Linked DNA regions of Homo sapiens: all the other regions are linked to region 3. The links are contacts of gene promoters, found by promoter capture Hi-C in blood cells and fetal thymus (Javierre and others, 2016). All regions are on one chromosome and are shown on one strand. Each heading gives the region's core, a stretch centred on a gene start or on the middle of the fragment in contact. The rest is flanking DNA. Distances are from core to core; before and after follow the strand shown. Region 1 overlaps SMG6 (SMG6 nonsense mediated mRNA decay factor). Region 2 overlaps SMG6 (SMG6 nonsense mediated mRNA decay factor). Region 3 holds the start of OVCA2 (OVCA2 serine hydrolase domain containing). Region 4 has its middle 78 kb from the start of RPA1. Region 5 overlaps RPA1 (replication protein A1). Region 6 overlaps SMG6 (SMG6 nonsense mediated mRNA decay factor).

What was found. The method cuts DNA at HindIII sites, captures the fragments that hold promoters and counts their contacts. A CHiCAGO score of 5 or more calls a contact.
Region 1: a contact is called between a fragment that was not itself captured here and the fragment with the promoter of OVCA2 in region 3, in 11 of 17 cell types (endothelial precursors, M1 macrophages, megakaryocytes and 8 more). The highest score is 15.1, in endothelial precursors.
Region 2: a fragment that was not itself captured here is called in contact with the fragment with the promoter of OVCA2 in region 3 in 15 of 17 cell types (naive CD4 T cells, total CD8 T cells, endothelial precursors and 12 more); the score reaches 14.7 in naive CD4 T cells.
Region 4: a fragment that was not itself captured here is called in contact with the fragment with the promoter of OVCA2 in region 3 in 4 of 17 cell types (endothelial precursors, M2 macrophages, M0 macrophages and 1 more); the score reaches 7.8 in endothelial precursors.
Region 5: a contact is called between a fragment that was not itself captured here and the fragment with the promoter of OVCA2 in region 3, in 8 of 17 cell types (naive CD4 T cells, total CD8 T cells, activated CD4 T cells and 5 more). The highest score is 8.5, in naive CD4 T cells.
Region 6: a contact is called between a fragment that was not itself captured here and the fragment with the promoter of OVCA2 in region 3, in 14 of 17 cell types (endothelial precursors, total CD8 T cells, activated CD4 T cells and 11 more). The highest score is 12.8, in endothelial precursors.

What each region holds. Positions count from the first base shown.
Region 1 is chr17:2,175,494-2,178,945 of GRCh38, forward strand. The region is part of intron 12 of SMG6 (SMG6 nonsense mediated mRNA decay factor); the gene reads right to left. Among named protein-coding and RNA genes, the nearest start is that of SMG6-AS1, 87 kb to the left of the region's middle. RefSeq lists enhancers at 985-2,449, 3,211-3,452. The HindIII fragment of the contact is 2,294 bases long and covers 726-3,019 here.
Region 2 is chr17:2,265,002-2,268,358 of GRCh38, forward strand. The region is part of intron 8 of SMG6 (SMG6 nonsense mediated mRNA decay factor); the gene reads right to left. Among named protein-coding and RNA genes, the nearest start is that of SMG6, 37 kb to the right of the region's middle. RefSeq lists enhancers at 906-1,115, 2,006-2,295. The HindIII fragment of the contact is 2,607 bases long and covers 87-2,693 here.
Region 3 is chr17:2,040,772-2,044,319 of GRCh38, forward strand. It overlaps OVCA2 (OVCA2 serine hydrolase domain containing), which reads left to right and starts at 1,251. Exons shown (of 2, transcript NM_080822.3): 1 at 1,251-1,460; 2 at 1,834-2,654. The coding sequence starts at 1,277. The coding sequence ends at 2,333. DPH1 (diphthamide biosynthesis 1) reads left to right here. Exons shown (of 13, transcript NM_001383.6): 10 at 332-410; 11 at 710-850; 12 at 997-1,104; 13 at 1,834-3,127. The coding sequence ends at 1,086. RefSeq lists silencers at 754-843, 1,354-1,553 and an enhancer at 1,104-1,163. The HindIII fragment of the contact is 21,411 bases long and covers 1-3,548 here.
Region 4 is chr17:1,905,884-1,909,148 of GRCh38, forward strand. No RefSeq gene overlaps it. Among named protein-coding and RNA genes, the nearest start is that of RPA1, 78 kb to the left of the region's middle. RefSeq lists enhancers at 1,277-1,785, 1,786-2,293. The HindIII fragment of the contact is 5,203 bases long and covers 1-3,265 here.
Region 5 is chr17:1,874,790-1,878,208 of GRCh38, forward strand. RPA1 (replication protein A1) reads left to right here. Exons shown (of 17, transcript NM_002945.5): 7 at 872-1,004; 8 at 2,423-2,525. Among named protein-coding and RNA genes, the nearest start is that of RPA1, 46 kb to the left of the region's middle. The HindIII fragment of the contact is 1,687 bases long and covers 807-2,493 here.
Region 6 is chr17:2,194,257-2,197,726 of GRCh38, forward strand. The region is part of intron 10 of SMG6 (SMG6 nonsense mediated mRNA decay factor); the gene reads right to left. Among named protein-coding and RNA genes, the nearest start is that of SMG6-AS1, 110 kb to the left of the region's middle. RefSeq lists an enhancer at 425-926. The HindIII fragment of the contact is 921 bases long and covers 1,458-2,378 here.

The DNA of each region.
Region 1 (3,452 bases), core at 623-3,122, 140 kb after region 3:
TTACCATGCTCTCCTGTCCCCTAAGGCTCAGATAAACCAAAACTGACTCCTCCCAGAGACTGCTGGCCACCACTAGGGACCCCTGCCCACATACGCCTTTTTGCCCATTACCACCCACCTTGTACCAAAACCTTGAGACTCACTGCAAAAATAAGGTGGACGAGAATCCCTACCTCAATGTTGATTTGTAAGAAAGCAGCTGATGCCAAAAGACACAGGGAGTGCCCAGAGTTCCCAACTCAGAAATATAAATAAAAGTGGTCCAAGAGCCAAGCTAGACTGTGCAGAACCAAGGAAATACACAAAATGCTTCAATGAGAGGTCACTTCTGCTCTGGTTAATTCAAATTGGTCTTGTGCTCTGATTGTGAGTAGCTGCCTTCTTCTGGTGTTTCAGTGGGATCACCCAAACTCAGTTCACATTCATATCATCAGTTATCTCCTTTCATCGAACACCACAGACATGAACACAACACAACTACCCAGAGACCCATGGGCGACACAGTGACTCTCTACAGGAGTGAGGGAGTGTCAGGAAACTCAAAGGAAGAGGTGCTTTGAAAAACCAGGTGAGATGTCTGAACTCAAAAGTTAAGATATTTGCAAAAGGATGAGGTAATTCCTGGAAGCTGGGCAACATCACCTCAGCTTACCCCAATCAGGCCTCTGGGCTGGGAGGTCAGTTCTGTGGGTGCACATAGGATTTCCTGTCTGTAGAAGGAGAAAAGCTTAGCTTTTTCCTGCTTTAATTCCTCATCCCAACCAGGAGCACCTTCTAGCCTTCACCCGACAGCAGCCCTTAGGCCCTATGGATTCAAGGTTGGCCAGGGCCAAGGAGCCAAAAGTCAAATTCGGGTGGCGATGAGGATCTGTAAACAGCTGCCAATCTTTTGGAAATGCTTGGGAAATAACTTCCCAGAAGGTTTCCCAAATAATCTCAAACAACTTTTGATTCTAAATGGACCCTCTAGAGTGCTGTGGACTCATGCAGGTCCTTCTGGTTTGTTCTGGTTCAATGCATATTTTAGGGAAATTCCCAGAGTCCACAATATCCCGCTAAAGTTAGGGTGGACTGTTCACCAAGCAGACACAAAGCAGCCAGAGAATACGCAACTGTGTCCAATGAGCCTGCTTATGGCTCCCAGAATGATGGCCAGGGAGTCTCTCAGCAGCTGTGATGTGATTAGAGAGCAGGGATCAGCAGTTGCAAGGTGACCCACTGGCCCAACCCCACAGAACACACCACACACCAGGACGGCAGAGCCCTGGCTGGAGTCGGAAAGCCAGATCCGAGTTTGGGACAAACCAGCAGTGACTAGTTACAAGTATGCACTCAGAACCAAGGCTCACTTGCTTCCCTACAGACATGCATTCACTTAGTCCACCAGGAAAGGAAAAAAATAAGAGTTAATTTACTTTTTATTGCCTCAGAATTCCAAGGTTTAATGTATCTGTCAGTTTGAGTGCAGTGCAGCTGCTGGCCGATACAATGCAGCCCAGGCCAGCCCAGGTGACTGGGGAAACACATTTCACAGAAACAAACCAACACACACTCCTGGCTGGTTGTTTGGGGGATATTGACTCCGGAATCAGATTAACCCTTCAGGCTGAGGTGAGTTCTGCAAATAGCTGTAGAAAGGCAGCTGACGTCCAGGGAACTGAGAAGCCCTGCTCTCAGAGGGGCCATGGGTTTCTGTGTTCCTAAAATTTTGCTTTTCTCACAGGAGAGGTTACCCAACTGCAGCATCCTCTGACAGATTAAGGTATGCCAGGTGAGACACGTCACACCACAATAATCTACCTTCTTGCCCAGAACTCAGAAAGGCAGTCTGCCAGCTTCATAGGGAAGGAGTCAGGCAGGACTTTTTCTGAAAGCTCCACTGGGGCAGGACTGAGAGGAGGAGAGAGTCTGAAAAGAGTGGAGCACCAACGCCTGACCAAGACTCAGTCCATCTTCCTGGCAAGTCTAAGGAGGATGAGGCACTCACACACTCCTTCATATTTTACTGGGGGAACAAGCTGACTGGTGATTAACATCAAGTACAATGACCCCATGTTACAAGCCTGCTGGGGCCTGTGGAGGTGGCCATTTCCTGTGTAATACCAGCTTGTTTAAACACTAACATTCAAACTCCACAGCTGCAGAACAAACCCGGAAAGAGTTGAGTGAGAAGAAGCCGTGCATTGTGTTTCAGAGCTATGGAAGATCAGAGAAGCAGTACAGATGGGAAACAAGTTGGGTCTTCTGGTTCCTGGAGTGAGGAGATCTGGAAATACAGCCAAGATGGCACAGAAGCTAGGCACAAAGAAGCTGAAAAAGAGGACACCCATGTGGTACAGACACAAAGACAAATGGCTGTAACAAGAGAACCACGCCTAAGACATGCAATATCTGCCTTTTCAAACGGTTTCCCTGTGGGCCATTATATCCTAGCCTACAACTGTCCACGCAGGGGTCAGAGGCTAACATAAGACCACTGTTGCCCTGGAGAGCTTCTCACTCCACTGGAGAAAACTGCAGGAATTCAGCAGCTAATAGCAGAAATGGACTTGAATCCAATAAGTGTGGCAGAGTTAAAAGAATAATACCCGGGCTTGAAATGGCTTAGCATGCCTCTTGGAAAGCCAAGATGTCATGCCAACTCTGTTTGCATTGGGCGAAGGATTTGATTCTGGTACCTCAGTGCTAGGTAGCTCAAGAGGCCCTGGGCTGGGCTGGAGATGGGGAGAATTCTATGCGGCTCCTGGAGATTTCTAGCAACAATGTGTCATCCAGATGCCACATGATACAAAGAAGAGACAAAGGTATCAAAGGCCACCATTCCAGGAGTTAAGATATGAGCAGCAAGACACCATCCTCTAAGAATAAGAGATGTTTGCTGGGTGACCCCTAAAGAGACCAGACTTAGATGAAGGTAATCCCTTCTATCTTTCTCATTTATACCAACAAGTCGACTTGGGACTTTGGGAGAGTACTCACCCTAAATCAATTTTGCCCAAAAGGGCAAATCAAATTCTGAAGCTTAGTCATCCTGCCCTACTGCAAGAATATAAACCTCTCCATGTTCTAAGCAGGGCAGCTGGAACCCTATGGCCAGCAATAGGTCACAGTAACCTCGTTCCAGGATTTCTCAAGTATCAGAGCACCTCAACCATCCACTGCCCCCAATATGTTCGGGGTCGGCGCCTTATTTGATTTCAGTTCTCCAAAGCCACCCTCATATGTATAGCCTCTGTCATATCACTATGGTGTGCTAAACCCATCAGCACTGTATGTTTGGGAAAGAGCAGCCCCTAGGGGATCCTGACATCTCCACGGCATGAGTGGAGCCCTCGGCGGCCTCCCTGGTGCGGATTCTCACGGTTCCTGCCTCTCCAAACTTTTAGCTGTAACCACTCCAACACGTCTTCTTAGCTTAGCACACACTGGACCCAAATAACCTCAGCTCAGAG
Region 2 (3,357 bases), core at 140-2,639, 220 kb after region 3:
TAGGCCATCAAGATCCAAATCCCAAGTCAGGTTCTCTGAGAGGAAATGAAGGAGTAAACCTTAACAAAATGTTTTTGACCTTGTCAAGCTTCAAAAGTAGTGGTTCTCAACCAGAATATGACCACCCATCCCAGGAACTGTTTGGAAGTATGTGTGGGCCGTTACTGGCATCTAATGAGCAGAGCCAGGAACGCTAAACATCCTGCAAGGTCAGACCTGCATAATGAAGAACTGTCGGCCGGGCACAGTGGCTCAAGCCTGTAATCCCAGCACTTTGGGAGGCTGACCACCTGAGGTCAGGAGTTCGAGACCAGACTGGCCAACATGGCGAAACACCATCTCTTCTAAAAATACAAAAATTAGCAGCGGGTGGTGACAGGAGCCTGTAGTCCCAGCTACTGGGGAGGCTGAGGCAGGAGAAACGCTTGAACCTGGGAGGCGGAGGTTGCAGTGAGCTGAGATTGCGCCACTGCACTCCAGCCTGGACAACAGAGCAAGACTGCCTCTCAAAAAAAAAAAACTGTCTGCTTAAAAGGCGATAACATTCTCATTAACAATCAATTTCCTAACAGAAGAACCTTATCATTAACTGCATTCACCTCTCCCAGCTTTTACAGCAGTGGTAAATTTTTTCTGTAAAAGGTCACAGAAAATAATTTAGGCTTCGTGAGCCACGTACATCTCTGTCTCGTGTTGCTCTTTTTAAACAACTCCTGACATAAGAATGTAAAAACCATTCTTAGCTCATAGGCCACTGGCAATATTTTGCCCATCCCTGTTCTAGGGTATTACCTGAATCATTAGTCTGTTTATATTAATTTAGAGATGCTGGTTAAAATAAAGTGTGATGGAGTATGCTATAAACAACACCAATAATGCATATGACAATCTTAAAGAATGAAATATGAACTTCAGAACTTAGCCTTACCACCTAAGAACTGGTGCATGTGTTGGGCTTCTAATCACCTCTCATTCTCGTCCCCTGTGCATTTCAGGTGCTTTAGGTTTTCTTCTGAATGTTCATTTTCAAACACTTTACCAGGAAGAGCACAGAAATGCCTTTCCCCCCTCTTCAGGATCTAGTACTTTCTGTTCACCATGCGTGCCACTCAAAGTCTTTTACAATTATTGCTGTTAACATCTTCTAAAATGTCTAAACCAAACCAAGGCCTGGAAATTCTGACGGGTATCTGGGTCCTGACTTTCCGGATGGTAACTAAAGGTCACGTGGGGTGGAAAGTGGCCTGTGGGTAACACAGAATATACACACGCACGCGAACAGGATATGCTGGTAATCCGGCTTCCTGAGACCTGGTGAGTTTTGAGAGTTCTCATCAACACTCTCGGGGAGGATGAAAAACCTTAAGCTGGGAAATGGCAGATTTTAAGCAAGTGCTCATTGTTAGATCTCTGTCTACAGCAGAATGGGAAGGTACACCATTTACTCCTCTATATTTTATTTGCCTAAAAACACAATACACAAAAAATAAACAAAGTGACTACTGAGAGAGGTTTCTTCAGTGTGGAAGCTGGCGTTTGCAGCATGGCTTATGTCACGTCTCAACCCCAGAAAGATGAAGAGTGTGGTTTTGGTGTTTAACCAGCCTCAGCAGCACCCTGGCACTCTGTTTCTTCCCCCAGAGAACTCTGCTCTGTTAGAGGAAAGAAACCAACCTCACATATTGAAACAAAACGGATAGGATAAAAATAAAGCCCTGAAGTGGTTTGGTGACCGAGGTCATTTGGGGCATTAAGGGTTTATAGGTAGGGCTGATGTACTTTGAGAAACTTGCACTCACTACCAACCACAAAGACATTAGCCTTACAGTCCAGCAGTGATCTGGACAAAGCAGCCCCAATCCTTGCCTACCAGGGGCTGCTCCTTGCAACCCACCTCACATTATCAACATCTGAAAAACCCGGTTCTGGTTCTGACCTTCTTTGAGGATCCCACTAAGCTGTTTCTCATGGCCTAAGAAAAAGAAAACCAATCTGCTTCTTCCCACAGAAAGAGGCTCTAATGAACTGCTGTCATCACGTGCTGCCAAACTGCAGTTCACACACTTTTCAAATAGCTTCCAGAGTGAAGAGTACAGCCTGAGGTACATATTGCAAACTACTTTACAAAAGCATAGGACTAATTAAAGACATGAAGTCAACTCACAAAAACCCTAAAAAATTTTCTGATGCCCACCTTACAGATACGGAATCTTTTTCTTTTGAGGCAGGGTCTCACTCTGTAACCCAGGCTGGAGTGAAGTGGAGCAGTCAAGACTCACTGCAGCCTCAACCTTCCAGACCAGAGTATTCTCCCACCTCAGGCTCCCGAGTAACTAGGACCACCCACCACACCTGGCTAATTTTTTTTTTTTAGTAGAGACAGGGTATCCCTACGTTGTCAAGGCTAGTCATGAATGAACTCCTGGATTCAAGCAATCCTCCTGCCTCAGCCTCCCAATGTGCCGGGATTATACCGGCGTTGAGTCACTGTTCCCAGCAAGATATGGAGTCTTTATATCCATGAGGCCAAAAAATTAAGCTGGCTTTCTCTGTCATGATGATATAATTATGAGACAATGAAATAACTGGGTTATCACAGATAAAGCACTTACCTACTAGTGCAGAGACTCAACTATTCTTTATCATTATAGATTAAATCAGTGCTTGTGCTATCCAGAGAGAACCAGGCCAAAAGCTTTCTTTTTTAATGTATTTACTTATTTATGTATTTTTAATTATTTTTATTATTATTTTTTTTTTTTTTGAGACAGAGTCTCGCTCTGTTGCCCAGGCTGGAGTGCCGTGGCGCGATCTCGGCTCACTGTAAGCTCCACCTCACAGGTTCAAACCATTCTCCTGCCTCAACCTCCCGAGTAGATGGGACTACAGGCGCCTGCCACCACACCCGGCTAATTTTTTGTATTTTTAGTAGAGACGGGGTTTCACCGTGTTAGCCAGGGTAGTCTCGATCTCCTGACCTCGGGATCCGCCTGCCTTGGCCTCCCAAAGTGCTGGGATTACAGGCGTGAGCCACTGCACCCAGCCTTATTTATGTATTTTTTAAGTGAAATATTTTTATTATTATTAGAGACGGCATCTCATTATGTTGCCTAGGCTGGTCTCCAACTCCTGGGTTCATGCAATTTCCCACCTCAGCCTCCCAAAATGCTGGGATTATAGGCATGTGCTACTGTGTCCAGTCTAAAAGCTTTTTCTAAGCTTCATAATGGGTACTGGCTCTCAAACTATAAACCTAAAGCCTCATGATACAACTCTAGGAATTAGAACTCATTCCAACAGAAAGCAAGTCACCTTGTCTAAGGAAACCTTATAAAACCATGCTCTGATCTATAATTG
Region 3 (3,548 bases), core at 1-2,500:
TTTGGGGCTCAGAGGCAATGGCAACATCACATTTGTCCTTGTGAGATGAGTTTGAGCGGTGGCTGACACCTGCCCTGTACCAGGTACTAAATGTGGTTCTGGGGATACTATCACCAGTGAGCTGCCCTGGAAAGCTCATTGTCGGCAGAGGAAACAGGAGAAAACACGCAACAATACAGTATTCCAAACAGCAGTGGGTCACTGTCTTTACTTTAGGATTCATAAAGCCTGTTAATGAATGGGTGTGCTGGGGGCACTGTCATGTTCTTCAGCATGCTGCCTGGGCGACGAGGAGGCCCTTCCTAGGGTCTGACCTGGCTTCCCTTCCCAGGTGGGTGCAGGTGGCATGTCCACGTCTCTCCATTGACTGGGGCACAGCCTTCCCCAAGCCGCTGCTGACACCCTATGAGGTAACACCAAGCTCTGGGAGAGAGTGGGCTTTGGACGTGGTTCTCAAAGGTGAGGTCTGGAGTGGAGTGGGGTGGGTGGGCAGCACTTCGTTATGTTCGTAGATTCCGGAGTCTGTCTCGATTTCTCCAGCGGAGTCACTTCCTAGCTGTGTAGCCTTAGGCAAGGCCCTGAACCACACAGTTCCCTTCTGTGGCAGGGGACAGTGTGCCCTTCACAGGCCGTCGTGAGGACTGAATTCAGTAATCCAGGGGCAGAAAAACACTGGCAGATGTTATTGTCCCTCCCTCCCCTCCCCTAGGCGGCCGTGGCTCTGAGGGACATTTCCTGGCAGCAGCCCTACCCGATGGACTTCTACGCTGGCAGCTCCTTGGGGCCCTGGACGGTGAACCACGGCCAGGACCGCCGTCCCCACGCCCCGGGCCGGCCCGCGCGGGGGAAGGTAGGCGGGGGCTTCCAGGAGGGAGGAGAGACCGCGCCTGGGCACTGGCCGCCGCCCTGCGACCGCGACGGGAAACGCACAGGAGCGGAGCGGAGGGAAACGCAGGGTCGCAGGAGCGAGACCCTAACCAAAGTCTGCGACCTCAGGTGCAGGAGGGGTCCGCGCGTCCCCCTTCGGCCGTGGCTTGCGAGGACTGCAGCTGCAGGGACGAGAAGGTGGCGCCGCTGGCTCCTTGACGCGCTCCCGGGCCTCAGGTATCAGCCCCCGCTCTGGGTGCGCCCCGCCTTTTGCCGTTGTCATGGGAACGCCTTGGCGCTCCGAGGCCCGCCCTCGGGGCGGTGCTGACGTTCGGTTCCGCCCCGTGCATTGTGCTTCCGCTCGGGGAAAGACCGCTTCCGGTGCTTCCGTCGCTCCTTGCCGGGCATAATGGCCGCGCAGCGACCCCTGCGGGTCCTGTGCCTGGCGGGCTTCCGGCAGAGCGAGCGGGGCTTCCGTGAGAAGACCGGGGCGCTGAGGAAGGCGCTGCGGGGTCGCGCCGAGCTCGTGTGCCTCAGCGGCCCGCACCCGGTCCCCGACCCCCCGGGCCCCGAGGGCGCCAGATCAGACTTCGGTGAGACAAGCCCCGCTCCGGAAACGCACTCAGTTTCCTCCATCTTGTTTCGTCCCCCTCGACACCCTTCAGCATCCCCCACCCTGCGTCCACCCGCATTCCTCCCACCCAGTCCACACCCTTCATTTCTCGCGACCCATACCCTCTTTGCTCAAACTGCAGCCTGTCCTCCCAGGCTTCCGCCTTCACCGTCTTCCTCCGCTGTCTCCTGTTCAGGCCAATCCACTCATTTCCCCCCTCTCATTTCCCCCAGACTTTTGCCTCGATTCCCTTTTTCTCTCTGTCATCTCGAACCCTCCTGCCCTTTCTCATTTCTTTCCTTCCTGGAGCCTCCCATGCCCTAATCCCATCCTTTTTCCTCATATCGCTGTAGGGTCCTGCCCTCCGGAGGAGCAGCCTCGAGGCTGGTGGTTTTCAGAGCAGGAGGCCGACGTTTTCTCCGCATTGGAAGAGCCCGCCGTCTGCAGGGGCCTGGAGGAATCACTGGGGATGGTGGCACAGGCACTGAACAGGCTGGGGCCTTTTGACGGCCTTCTTGGTTTCAGCCAAGGGGCTGCGCTAGCAGCCCTTGTGTGTGCCCTGGGCCAGGCAGGCGATCCCCGCTTCCCCTTGCCACGGTTTATCCTCTTGGTGTCTGGTTTCTGTCCCCGGGGCATTGGGTTCAAGGAATCCATCCTGCAAAGGCCCTTGTCATTGCCTTCGCTCCATGTTTTTGGGGACACTGACAAAGTCATCCCCTCTCAGGAGAGTGTGCAACTGGCCAGCCAATTTCCCGGAGCCATCACCCTCACCCACTCTGGTGGCCACTTCATTCCAGCAGCTGCACCCCAGCGTCAGGCCTACCTCAAGTTCTTGGACCAGTTTGCAGAGTGAAAGATCAAGAAATGTCTCTGCTCCTACATCCAGCTCCTCTAGGGGCAGCCTCCGTCATCCATGCCCTCCCAGGACCCTCCACTCACTGCTGTGAGTGCGCCTCACCAGAACCAGTTAAGAGACAACTATCAATTCTTGAGACCCAAATTATAAGGGCCCTGCCCTGTACTGAAGAAAAGGGGAGCACAAGGCCTTAATGGACATTGACTTGTGAAAACGCAAACATGAATATGGTTGGAGAGCCCTGGATTAGGAGGGTGACATGGGGAAGGCAGAGGCTGGCACCATGGTGACTGCCACATAATAAAGTGGTGATTTGGATTTTGAGCATCTTTTTCCTGGTACACACAGAAAAACATTTTATAATGGAAGTCGGTTTCTTGGCCATCTACATAGTTTTCTGGGCAGCGCCAAGCAGGGAGGTGTCTCCAGTTGTGAGTCCTCGGACAGGCTGCTGCATGGGTGCACATACTCACGTTATTGGTGGAAGTTTTAAGTCCCAAACTGAAGGGAAGGAGGCCTAGGTGGCACAATCAGGGAGGAATATACATCTGAGAAGTTTTGGGAAGACATCACCTGGCAAGGCTGCCTGAACCACAGTAATTTAGTCTTCCTCTATCCAGATCACTGAGAGTTGTGTGCTGGTCTTCTCTCAAACCCTGGATGTGTTACCTGCTTCTCCCTAAGTGCTCTAACCTCGCTGAACTATGAGCCTGAAGGGTGGGTCGATGCCAGACCTTAGGTGGAGGCCAAAGACAGTACAGAATAAACAGCTTCTTCCTAAATTGACCCCATCTTGAGGGTTTCTGAGATTGATGCCATTCTTTAGTGACTACAGCCAAGGCCTAAGCAATCCAGCTGGTTTTCCCCTTGGGGCGTGTAGTTGTTCTTGGATACTTTGAGGATTGCTCACTCTTTTTTTTTTTTTTTTTGAGACAGGCTCACTCTGTCACCCAGGCTGGAGAGCAGTGGCCAAGATCCTGGCTCACTGCAACCTCAGCCTCCTGGGTTCAAGCAGTTCTGTCTCAGCCTCCTGAGTAGGTGGCGTTACAGGCATGCGCCACCACGCCTGGCTAATTTCTATATTTTTTTGTAGAGATAGGGTTTTGCCACGTTGCCCAGGCTGGTCTCAAAACTCTTTAGCTCAAACAATCCACCTGCCTCAGCCTCCCAAAGTGCTAGGATTATAGGCCTGAGCCACTGCACCTACCTAGG
Region 4 (3,265 bases), core at 284-2,783, 130 kb before region 3:
CTGTGTGTATGGGGGTGTGCTGGGTCGTCTCGTGGGGCTCAGCTATAAAACTGGGTCCTCCGTATATCTGACATGGTGTCTGTCCCGTGAGAAGATACTTGAGGTGACACAAGAAATGTGAAGGAAATAGAAGACCTGGTCCCTTCTCATTATCCGTCCATGGCGGGGGGGGAGCCTCACAAAATGGAAGAGCACTTTCTATAAGCAAAACCAGAGTGACACAGAGGATGCTGAGTACGTGGTGTGTGAAGGGAGTCCAGTGAAGGAGAGCGGACAGTCTGGTGGAGGCAGACAAAAAACCTATGAGTTGTCATCGTGAAGTTGCAAAAAAGGGATTGGCTGGCCGGGCGCAGTAGCTCACGCCTGTAATCCCAGCACTTTGGGAGGCCGAGGTGGGTGGATCACCTGAGGTCGGGAGTACAAGACCAGCCTGACCAACATGGAGAAACCCCGTCTCTGCTAAAAATACAAAATTAGCCGGGGTGGTGGTGCATGCCTGTAATCCCAGCTACTCGGGAGGCTGAGGCAGGAGAATCGCTTGAACCCAGGAGACGGAGGTTGCAGTGAGCCGAGATCGCGCCATTGCACTCCAGCCTGGGCAACAAGAGCGAAACTCCGTCTCAAAAAAAAAAAAAAAAAAAAAGGATCGGCTGGAAGAAAAGTCCATTTCAAACTGAAGGACTGGCACGTTGCTCAGGAGCCAGTAAACCAGGTGCAGGTGATACCAAGAAAATTAGCTTGGTTTGAGTGGTGAGTCTTTGTAGAAAAATAAATGAGATTGCTGCACACTGGGAGGGCGGCCTGGATCTTCATTTCCTTGGAGCTTAAGACTTAAGCCCTGTGGAATGTAAGTCCTAGGAGTGTCCTTTGTCACTAATTGATCTTTCAGCTGCTCATAGAGCTGGCATTCTTGCAGGCCAGGTACACGAGAAGATAGAGCCGGAGCAGCCTGCCTCCGCTTAGCCAACTGCATAGCTGAGGAAATCCTGCCGGGCATGTTATTGGAGGGTTGTGCACTCTATTCCTCACGAGCTTCGTGCTGGGATGCTCATTTTCTCTGGACAAAGATAGACTGGCTCCCTCTCTTGTTGATGGAATGGAAATTCTCTCTTGCATTATGGTTTCTGTGATAACTTTGGTGGCGGTGGTGTGGGGATAATGAAGAGTCTCTTAATGGCTCTAGTTAAACCTGGTAATATCACTCTATCACACTGGAGCCGGCCGTGGGAATCTAACCCACTTTTGTATTCCTAAACGCCTAAAACCTGCCACTGGCATCTTCGCATAATAAGGAACCAGTCATCGCTCGTCTGTGTCCTGGAACATATTTATAAGCCTATGTTAATTTCTGGACTCCGGAATGGCGCCTCTTCCAATCCCAGCCCTCGGTCAGTCTCTCCGGATAGACTTGGGAAGTCAGGTCGTTTCAGCCACACATCACCATTCTCCGTCCCTGAGCCCGGCATGCTGGTTTAGTGCCCCCAAAGGAAGAGAACTCATTTTATTCTGGAAATTGGGAAAGTGAATTTGCTTCAGGACCTGCCTAGGTCTAATTAGTCCAGTCCGTAAGCAGGCCTGGCTCCGTGTCTGAGGCATGCGTGCACGTGGATGGTGTGTGTGCACACGTGTGTGTGGCATGTGCACGTGTGTGCCCTGGCAGCCACTATAACGTGCCCGGCAGTGGCCGCTGTTCGCCCAGGTTGGCCCAGTTCAGTCCTGCTTCTCAGGGTGGCTGGTAGATGTGGCCACCTTACAACCCCCAAAAGCCTTCCATGTGCACCCCCAACCCCCAAAAGCCTTCCATGCGCACCCCCAAATGGAGAAGGGGCCGGGTGGGGTGTCATTAGGAGATGGGGGCCACGTGCCAAGACAGAGGAAGGGGAAATGGGGAGAAAACAACAAGAAAAGGAATAGGTGGGGAGAGAGGTCATTTTAACCTAAATTAAATAATGGAAATGACCATTATGAACACAACGAGGGCAGGGATTCCGTAGCCAGAGCTGCGAGACCGTGACAAATGGCTCTCCAGGGAAACGGGGTGCAGCCTCCTCTCCTGGAAGTCAGGAAAGGGGTCTCTCCACCAACCAGGGGCGGGAGGCAGAGCCTGCGCTGCCGGATTTAGCCTGGAAGTTAAAATCGCTGAAGCAGTTTATAGAAACAGCAGAGTGAGCCGCCGCGCACAATCAGTAGGCAGGATCCAGAGACGATGGCATAAATGTTTCAAATGTGCTCAGGGTAATTAGTTTTGAATTACCATGTGCATATTTTAAACATTTAAATGATCATCCCAGGTTTTCGAAAACAGTTGCACGCGGCTTGATGTCACCTCCCCTCCCGGGCGGCCTCCCCAAGGGGACACAGCCAGGTGGGGCCTGCGGGTCCCGCGACCTCAGCCGGGGAGGGGCGCGCGCTAAGCCCGGGGATCAGCGCGGATTAGGCCGCAGCCCCGAGTCCTGGAGCAGCCGCTCGCCCGGGACTTCCCGTCCTCCAAGCCTGCGTCGGCTGTGCCAGGTTTTCAAGACGATCTGCTCAGCGTTTAGGTTTCCCATTGTGCATGAAAATGCAATTCCACGCGGGCAGTTTTTCTCCCCCGTTTGATTTCCTGGAGACCCGGGTGGCTGGGAAACTTGAAAGGTGACTGGCCAGGTGGGAACCGCGTTTGGTGTTTGAAGCCAGCCACCTTGTCCGCCAGTCTCTCGAGGCGACCTGCCTTGCAGCAACTCCATTCTCCCTGGGGTTCGACTCAGAATGCAAACGACGATTTCCAAATTCCCTAATTCCGGAGGCGCTGGGAGGGGCGAAGGTGTCAGGCCTGGACCCCCACCCCCCGCCCGCGCCTTCCCTGCCGGCTGCAGGGGCGGATCCAGGCTGCGCCCTGGGGTGTCTCACAGAGGCCCTGTCGGCGGGGCGCGGCGGGTCGGGGTGTCTAAAGTCAGATCCCTAACTTCAGACACCCGAATTTAGCATCGTGGCTTAGAAACGCTGCCCTGTGTCCCCTTCCTCCCGGTTACAAGCTGTTTCTCCAGCAGGTGGAGCTGGGAGAATAAAAACTATGAGCCTGTGCCTGGGACCTTGCAGAGGGAGCTATCTGTGCTGAAATCCTGGTTGAATGAAAATTGTTCATTATGCAAACTGTCTGGTTCAGTACACAGAGGCAGCCCCCAGGCGCAAACCCCAAGTAGCTGCTTCTTCTCTCCCCAGATTAAAACATATGAACTGCTTTGATGTAATCTTATAACAAAGCCTAATAGAAATTTTATTTCTT
Region 5 (3,419 bases), core at 400-2,899, 170 kb before region 3:
ACTAATTACTACGAATGCCTAGAAGGGTGTGGCACATGCCGTGGAAACCCAGTAAATAAATACTGGATAGATGGTGTATTGATATTTTTAGCCAAATTCTATTCTGAAGAAATGTTTTGATGTAGAGGGTATGAAATCACTGAACTAAATTATATTTTCTGAATTTGGACGTTGAGTTTTGCAGATACGTGGTGCGTATAAAAGAACTCACCTGATTCCCTGTTCTTTCCCAGCGCAGGGCAGCTGCTTAGGTTTGGATTAAGGAGGCGGAAGGGTCTTAGTGGTCACCCACTTAACATATCTTGACCAAAAACTGATTCCTGCCCTTTGCACCCGACGAAACTCATTCTTACAGACTTCATTCTAGACTTGCTAGTCCTTCAGACGCATTGAGATCTGGGAGTTGTCTGGGGATTTGGAGGCGATCTATTTGTGATAGGTCCCTTACATCCTGTCTTTCTTCATGTGACTAGTGCCTTGCCATCAGTTTTACCAGTTACAAAAGTTGATTTTCTTTTTCTCACCCATTATCTTGCCCGTTGAGGCAAGAGAAGTGTTTAAGAGGGCGGCCTTCAGAAACAGCAGTGTCTGGATTCGTCACCATTATTACTTTGACCTCGGGGCTGACATCAGCAAACATAGCAGTGAGCTGCTGTGTGCGCAGCCTTCATCCTAGATTGCTTTTGTAGCCTCCAGCCTCAGTCTCTATTTGATCTGCGTATCTCTTGCATATAAAAAGGAAAAGCTTTGCCTCTCATGTTATATGATTTCACTAGTGGCACCTCCAAAATTTAGAGTTATTGTAAAGCTTACTATAAAAAAGCTAAGTAGAATAGTAATAACTCCTTTTCGTTTGCGTTTGTTTTTAAAGGTTCTACTGTTTCTAAGGCTTATGGTGCTTCAAAGACATTTGGAAAAGCTGCAGGTCCCAGCCTGTCACACACTTCTGGGGGAACACAGTCCAAAGTGGTGCCCATTGCCAGCCTCACTCCTTACCAGTCCAAGTGAGTTGTTGCATAGAGTAAGTTCAGAGTGTACTTATGAAATCGGAGAAGCTATTATGGACTCTTGAGTTATTTATGCGTGAACTTCAGGGTCACCACCAAATACCACCAAATAGAATGGGTTTACTCTTTTTTTTTTTTTTTTTTGCTGAGGAGGAAAGGGGTACAAATTGTGGCAAACTTTTAACTCTTGTTGGAAAATATAGTAACAATAGCAATCTGCCATAGCCTGTGGGGTTTCATTCATTTTGAAAGAATTTGAAATTAAAAATACTTAATGCTTAATCAGTTGATAGTCTTATGAGTAAAAATAAATATTTCTGATAATTCAAAAGGCATTTAATCTTCTCCTATAAACAGGTGACTTCGTCTTTGGTTTAGTTGGCTAAAATAATCTGCACTATTTGTATTAAACACATGAACATACCCTGAACATAAATTTCTTTTATATGACTTTTTTCCACCAAAAATTAATTTGAAGCCGGGCGCGGTGGCTCATGCCCGTAATCCCCGCACTTTAGGAGGCTGAGGCGGGTGGATCACCTGAGGTCGGGAGTTTGAGACCAGCCTGGCCAACATGGTGAAACCGTGTCTCTACTAAAAATACAAAAATTAGCCAGGTGTTGTGGAGCACGCCTGTAATCCCCGCTACTCAGGAGGCTGAGGCAGAAGAATCGCTTGAACCCAGGAGGCGGAGGTTGCAGTGAGCCAAGATTGTGCCACTGCCTTCCAGCCTGAGTAACAGAGTGAGATTCCGTCTCTCAAGATAAATAAACAAAATAAAGTAATTTGAATAGTTAAAAATTAGAGTTCTTTTTTCAGAATCCTTCCAGATATGTTTATATTTATTCTTCAATACTCTGTAACGTAGGAAAGATATTTTTCCCTGTGAAATTATAAGTGGGGTACCTAATGTGCCCTGTGCCTCCTTTTTCCATGCTTCTCTCTAAGGTCATGCTGCTTCAGTGTGTTCTTCCTGATGGTCCACCAACATCGTGTATTCTATTCAGGGTGTGTTACGAATGAGACAGAAGTGTAACACCAGTTATATCAGTTCCCATAATTGAAAACTGTGGCAAAATATAATTGCTGGTGTTACTGTATTTTCCAGCTTAGAACCTTTCATTAAGGGGATATGGTTGCCTTGGTGATGCTTTTTGGAGAAGGGAGAGAGTTTATAAATTTACTTATTTGACAGGAGAATGAGTTAGTATTAAATCACTTTGCATGTTTTACTATTTGCTTATTCTGTAAACTGTCAAACCCATGTGTCATCTTGGGGTTTTAATTAGCTGGATTAAAATACAGGTTGGAAAACGGAATATGCGTAAGACGAGAAAGGCTGTAGGAAGATGATTTCTTACTTGATCTTTTCCAAGGAAGACCCCATACACTAATATGATCGATTTGGTTTGTAGGTGGACCATTTGTGCTCGTGTTACCAACAAAAGTCAGATCCGTACCTGGAGCAACTCCCGAGGGGAAGGGAAGCTTTTCTCCCTAGAACTGGTTGACGAAAGTGTGAGTGTTTGTCATGCTGGGGAGTGAGGGCAGTGGGCTCGCCGGGAAACAGAAGGCTCAGCTCTGCGGAGGGCAGTGGGCTCGCTGGGAAACAGAAGGCTCAGCTCTGCGGAGGGCAGTGGGCTCGCCGAGAAACAGAAGGCTCAGCTCTGCGGGCCTATGAGGTGAAGAATAATAGTAGGCCAGAGAGAAGCATGATTGTTATTGTGCTTTTCCCTCTGTCATAGTCTTTTGATGCTGTCTGGAGTAGAGGGTTAAGGTCATAAATAAAATCTTTGATCTTAAATGACAGCGTTTGTAGCAGTAGAAAGTAGTTTTCTAAATATATAAGTAGCCTCCTGGGCAGGAGAAGCTGGAAACAGTCTGATTTGCTGGCAGGTGTACTGGAAGCACTGGGAGGTGATGCCTGCTTGTGAGCGCCGTGGAGCTTTGGGACACAGCAGAAGGCACACAGTTGTGACCTCGATATGGGAGTGGTTTTGTGGGAAATGGGTTCTGACTGTGCAGATTCTCTATTTGCTTTATTTAAACTAAACAAAACCATGACGATGAGACAAAATTCCTATGCCATGGAAGTACGACAGTCTTGATAGCTGTTAATCAGTCCATTCGTTTTGCTAATAATTCCTGAAATTGCCGGGTGTGGTGGCTCACGCCTGTAATCCCAACACTTTGGGAGGCCAGGGTGCACAGATCACTTGAGGTCAGGAGTTCGAGACCAGCCTGGCCAACATAGTGAAACCCCGTTTATACTAAAAATACAAAAATTAGCTGGGTATGGTGGCAGGTGCCTGTAGTCCCAGCTACTTGGGAGGCTGAGGCAGGAGAATCAATCGCCTGAACCAAGGAGGTGGAGGTTGGAGCCAGCCAAGATTGCACCACTGCACTCCAGCC
Region 6 (3,470 bases), core at 668-3,167, 150 kb after region 3:
CTTGACTCAACAGTGAGGGAGCACTCACTCAATGTTCTTGGATGAAGCAATGAGTGAATATTTTATAAAGATTAATCTAGCTAAAGCATTTAGGACTAATTAGGGTAGCTGGAAAAAGGTAACAATGAGGGAGACCAGTTGGGAAGCTAAGAGAGCATGAACTTGTTTGAAGCAAGCGAAATTACATGTAAAGCACTCATAAAGTTTATAATGCCAAGTAAGGGTAACATCTTCTTATAATAGAGGTAGAAGAGGGAATGAAAAGCAGTGCACAGATATGAAAATTACCGCAGAAAGAAAATCAAAAGAGGCCAGGAATGGTGGCTTACGCCTGTAATCCCAGCACTTTGGGATGCTGAGGCAGGAGGACTGCTTGAGAGCCCAGTAGTTCAAGACCAGCCTGAGCAACAGAGTAAGACCCTGTCTCTACCAAAAGAAAAGAAAACAAAACAAAACAAAAAAAAAAAGAAAGAAACATCAAAAGAGGCTGGAGATAATGCTGTTGAGGGGGTACGTAGGGGTGAAGACTGCTGGAGCAGGTCAAAGACTCTCACGTGTATTCTCGGCAGGTTCCAGAGGATCCTGAAAACTCAAGAAGAGTAACAACTCACCAAACAAGATCCAAGTAAGGGGGAAGAAACTCAGGACTGCAAAACACCTGGAGGGAGAGAGGTATGTGTCAAGGAGTCCCCAGGCTCCCTCCCTCTTGGCTCTGGGCCAAGTCCTGTCTTTCCAGAACAAAGACACTTCAGGGGGTCAGAAATACTTGAGGAAGACCTAGCAAGAGGCGGCCTGGGAAGTCTGAACTGGTGCTCCCTGTGGAAGCCATTAGATATTCGGCACTTCATTTGTTTCCAATTCTTGTACGAGTACAGCTCCAGGCTGTGGGGTGACAGGCTCCTCTCTGACGTAATCAGGAAGCAGCTGCAAAATTAAGGAATCCCTCATGACATCATAAAAAGGGTCGATGGTTTACTGGGGAAAGTATAAAAATTAATTACATATTCCCACATGACACCCTTCCCCTAAATCTGTACACACCCTCTCCCACCTCCACACATTCTCTCATCAACAACATCCAGAAGCCACCTCAATGGACAGGGTACAAAAGGGCAAACAAAACCCAGAGAAGGTTCTTTGATGCACTCACACTGTCTGCCCACCTATTTGGAACTTAACAAGCAATACCTTGTCCTGGAATTGTTATTCATACAGTAGGTTTCCTCAACAGAATTATAAGCCCCTTGAGGGCAAGAGCTATGTCAAGACTTCACATCCTTGGAAATCAGCACCATAGAGAGGTTCAAGAAACATTTGCTGCTCATAATAGTAGGCACACTTGCCTCTCTCACTTTGGATCTAACCATGAATGACATGATTCCACTGTGGCCAGACATAATAACTAAGACATTTTGAGACCTATGTTAGGCAAACAATATTTATATATATTATCTCAAAGCTTTACAAAAGGATTGCCTGAGTATTATTCTCCTTTTTGACATTTGAGGAAACAGGCTCAGAGAGACTAAATGACCTGCCCAATAACACAAGGCTAGAAAGTGCCAGAGCTGGGATCTGAATCCAGTTCTGTCTGCTCTCATGCCCACATTGTTTGCATATCTGATTTTCACACGCCCGTGACTCAAGTGTCACACTCCCACTGCTCCTCTCTCCTTTGCTATGAACATGAAAAGCTCAGACTACTCCAACCACAGTGCTGCACAAAGAGCTCAGAGATGATGACTGTGTGGAAGCCAAAATGAAAAACATGCCATCGTTTACAATAGTGACAAAGAAAATGAAATATTCAGGTATAAGTCTAACAGAACGTACGGAAACGCTATGCTAAAAATCTGAAAATGCTGATGAAAATCAAAGACAAAGCCAGGCATGGTGACTCAACGCCTGTAAACCCAGCACTTCAGGAAGCTGAAGCGGGCAGATCACCTGAGATCAGGAGTTCGAGACCAGCCTGGCCAACATGGTGAAACCCTGTTTCTACTAAAAATACAAAAATTAGCTGGGCGTGGCGGCGCGTGCCTGTAATCCCAGCTACTCGGGAGGCTGAGGCAGGAGCAGGGGAATCACTTGAACCCAGGAGGCGGAGGTTGCAGTGAGCCGAGAATGCGTCATTGCGCTTCAGCCTGGGTGACAAACTCTGTCTCAAAAAAACAAAACCCAGAAAATAAAAGACAACCTAAAAACTGGGGAGAGTTACCATGTTCATGAACTGAGCAACTCAGCATTGTAGAGATGCCAGTTAATTGTTTAACGCAATTGCTATCAAAATCTTAGGAAGGTTTTATGTAGACAATAGATCTATAGGTTTAACGCAACAGCTATCAAAATCTCAGGAACGTTTCACGTAGATAAAGACAAGCTTATTCTAAAGCTTATCTGGAAAAGCAAAGGATGTAGAACATTTCAAACAATTCTGAAAAAGAATAAAGCGGGAGAAATCGTTCTCCCTGATGTTAAGTTAATGAAGAAAGGGGCCGGGCATGGTGGTTCATGCCTATAATCTCAGCAATCTGGGGGACCAAGGCAGGACTGCTTGAGATCAGGAGTTTGAGACTAACGTAAACAACATAGCAAGACCCCACCTCTTCTAAAATAAAATTAAAAGGAGGAATATCTTTTCAACAAATGGTACTGAAGCAATTAGACATCTGTATGCAAAAAAACAAAGCAATAAAACCTTGACCTAACTTTCACACTTATACAAAAATTATCTCATAATAGATCGAAGACTTATATATAAAACATAGGACCATAAAACTCTTAGAAAAAAATGGAAGAAAATCTTCAGGACCTAGGACTAAGAGTTCTAAGACTTAATGCCAAAAGTACAATCCATAAAAGGAAAAACTGATATACTGGATTTCATAAAAATTAAAAACTTTTGCACTGCAAAAGACCCTGTAAAAAGATGAAAAGGCAAATGATAGGCTAGGAAAATCTGTTTGTAAACCACATATCTGCCGAAGAACTAGTAACCAGATTACATATAAAACTCTTAAAACCTGGCCAGGCGCGGTGGCTCACGCCTATAATTCCAGCACGCTGGGAGGCCAAGGTGGGAGAATTGCTTGAGCCCAGGAGTCTGAGACCAGCCCTGGCAACATAGCAAGACTGTGTCTCTAAAAAAAAAAAAATTTAATTAGCTGGATGTGGTAACATTTGCCTGTAGTCCCAGCTACTTGGGAGGCAGAAGTGGGAGGATCACTTGAGCCTGGGAGGTCAAGGCTGCAGTGACCCGTGACAGTGCCGCTGCACTCCAGCCTGGGTGACAGAGACCCTGTCTCAAAAAAAACAACACATAAAGAAAAATAAACACAAACCAAAAAACAAAAAACCTCTCAAAACTTAACAGTAAGAAAACAACAATACATTTAGAAAATGGGCAAAAAAAAAGACAAACCAGATATTTCATCAAAGAGGATATACAAATAGAAAATAAGCACAAGCAA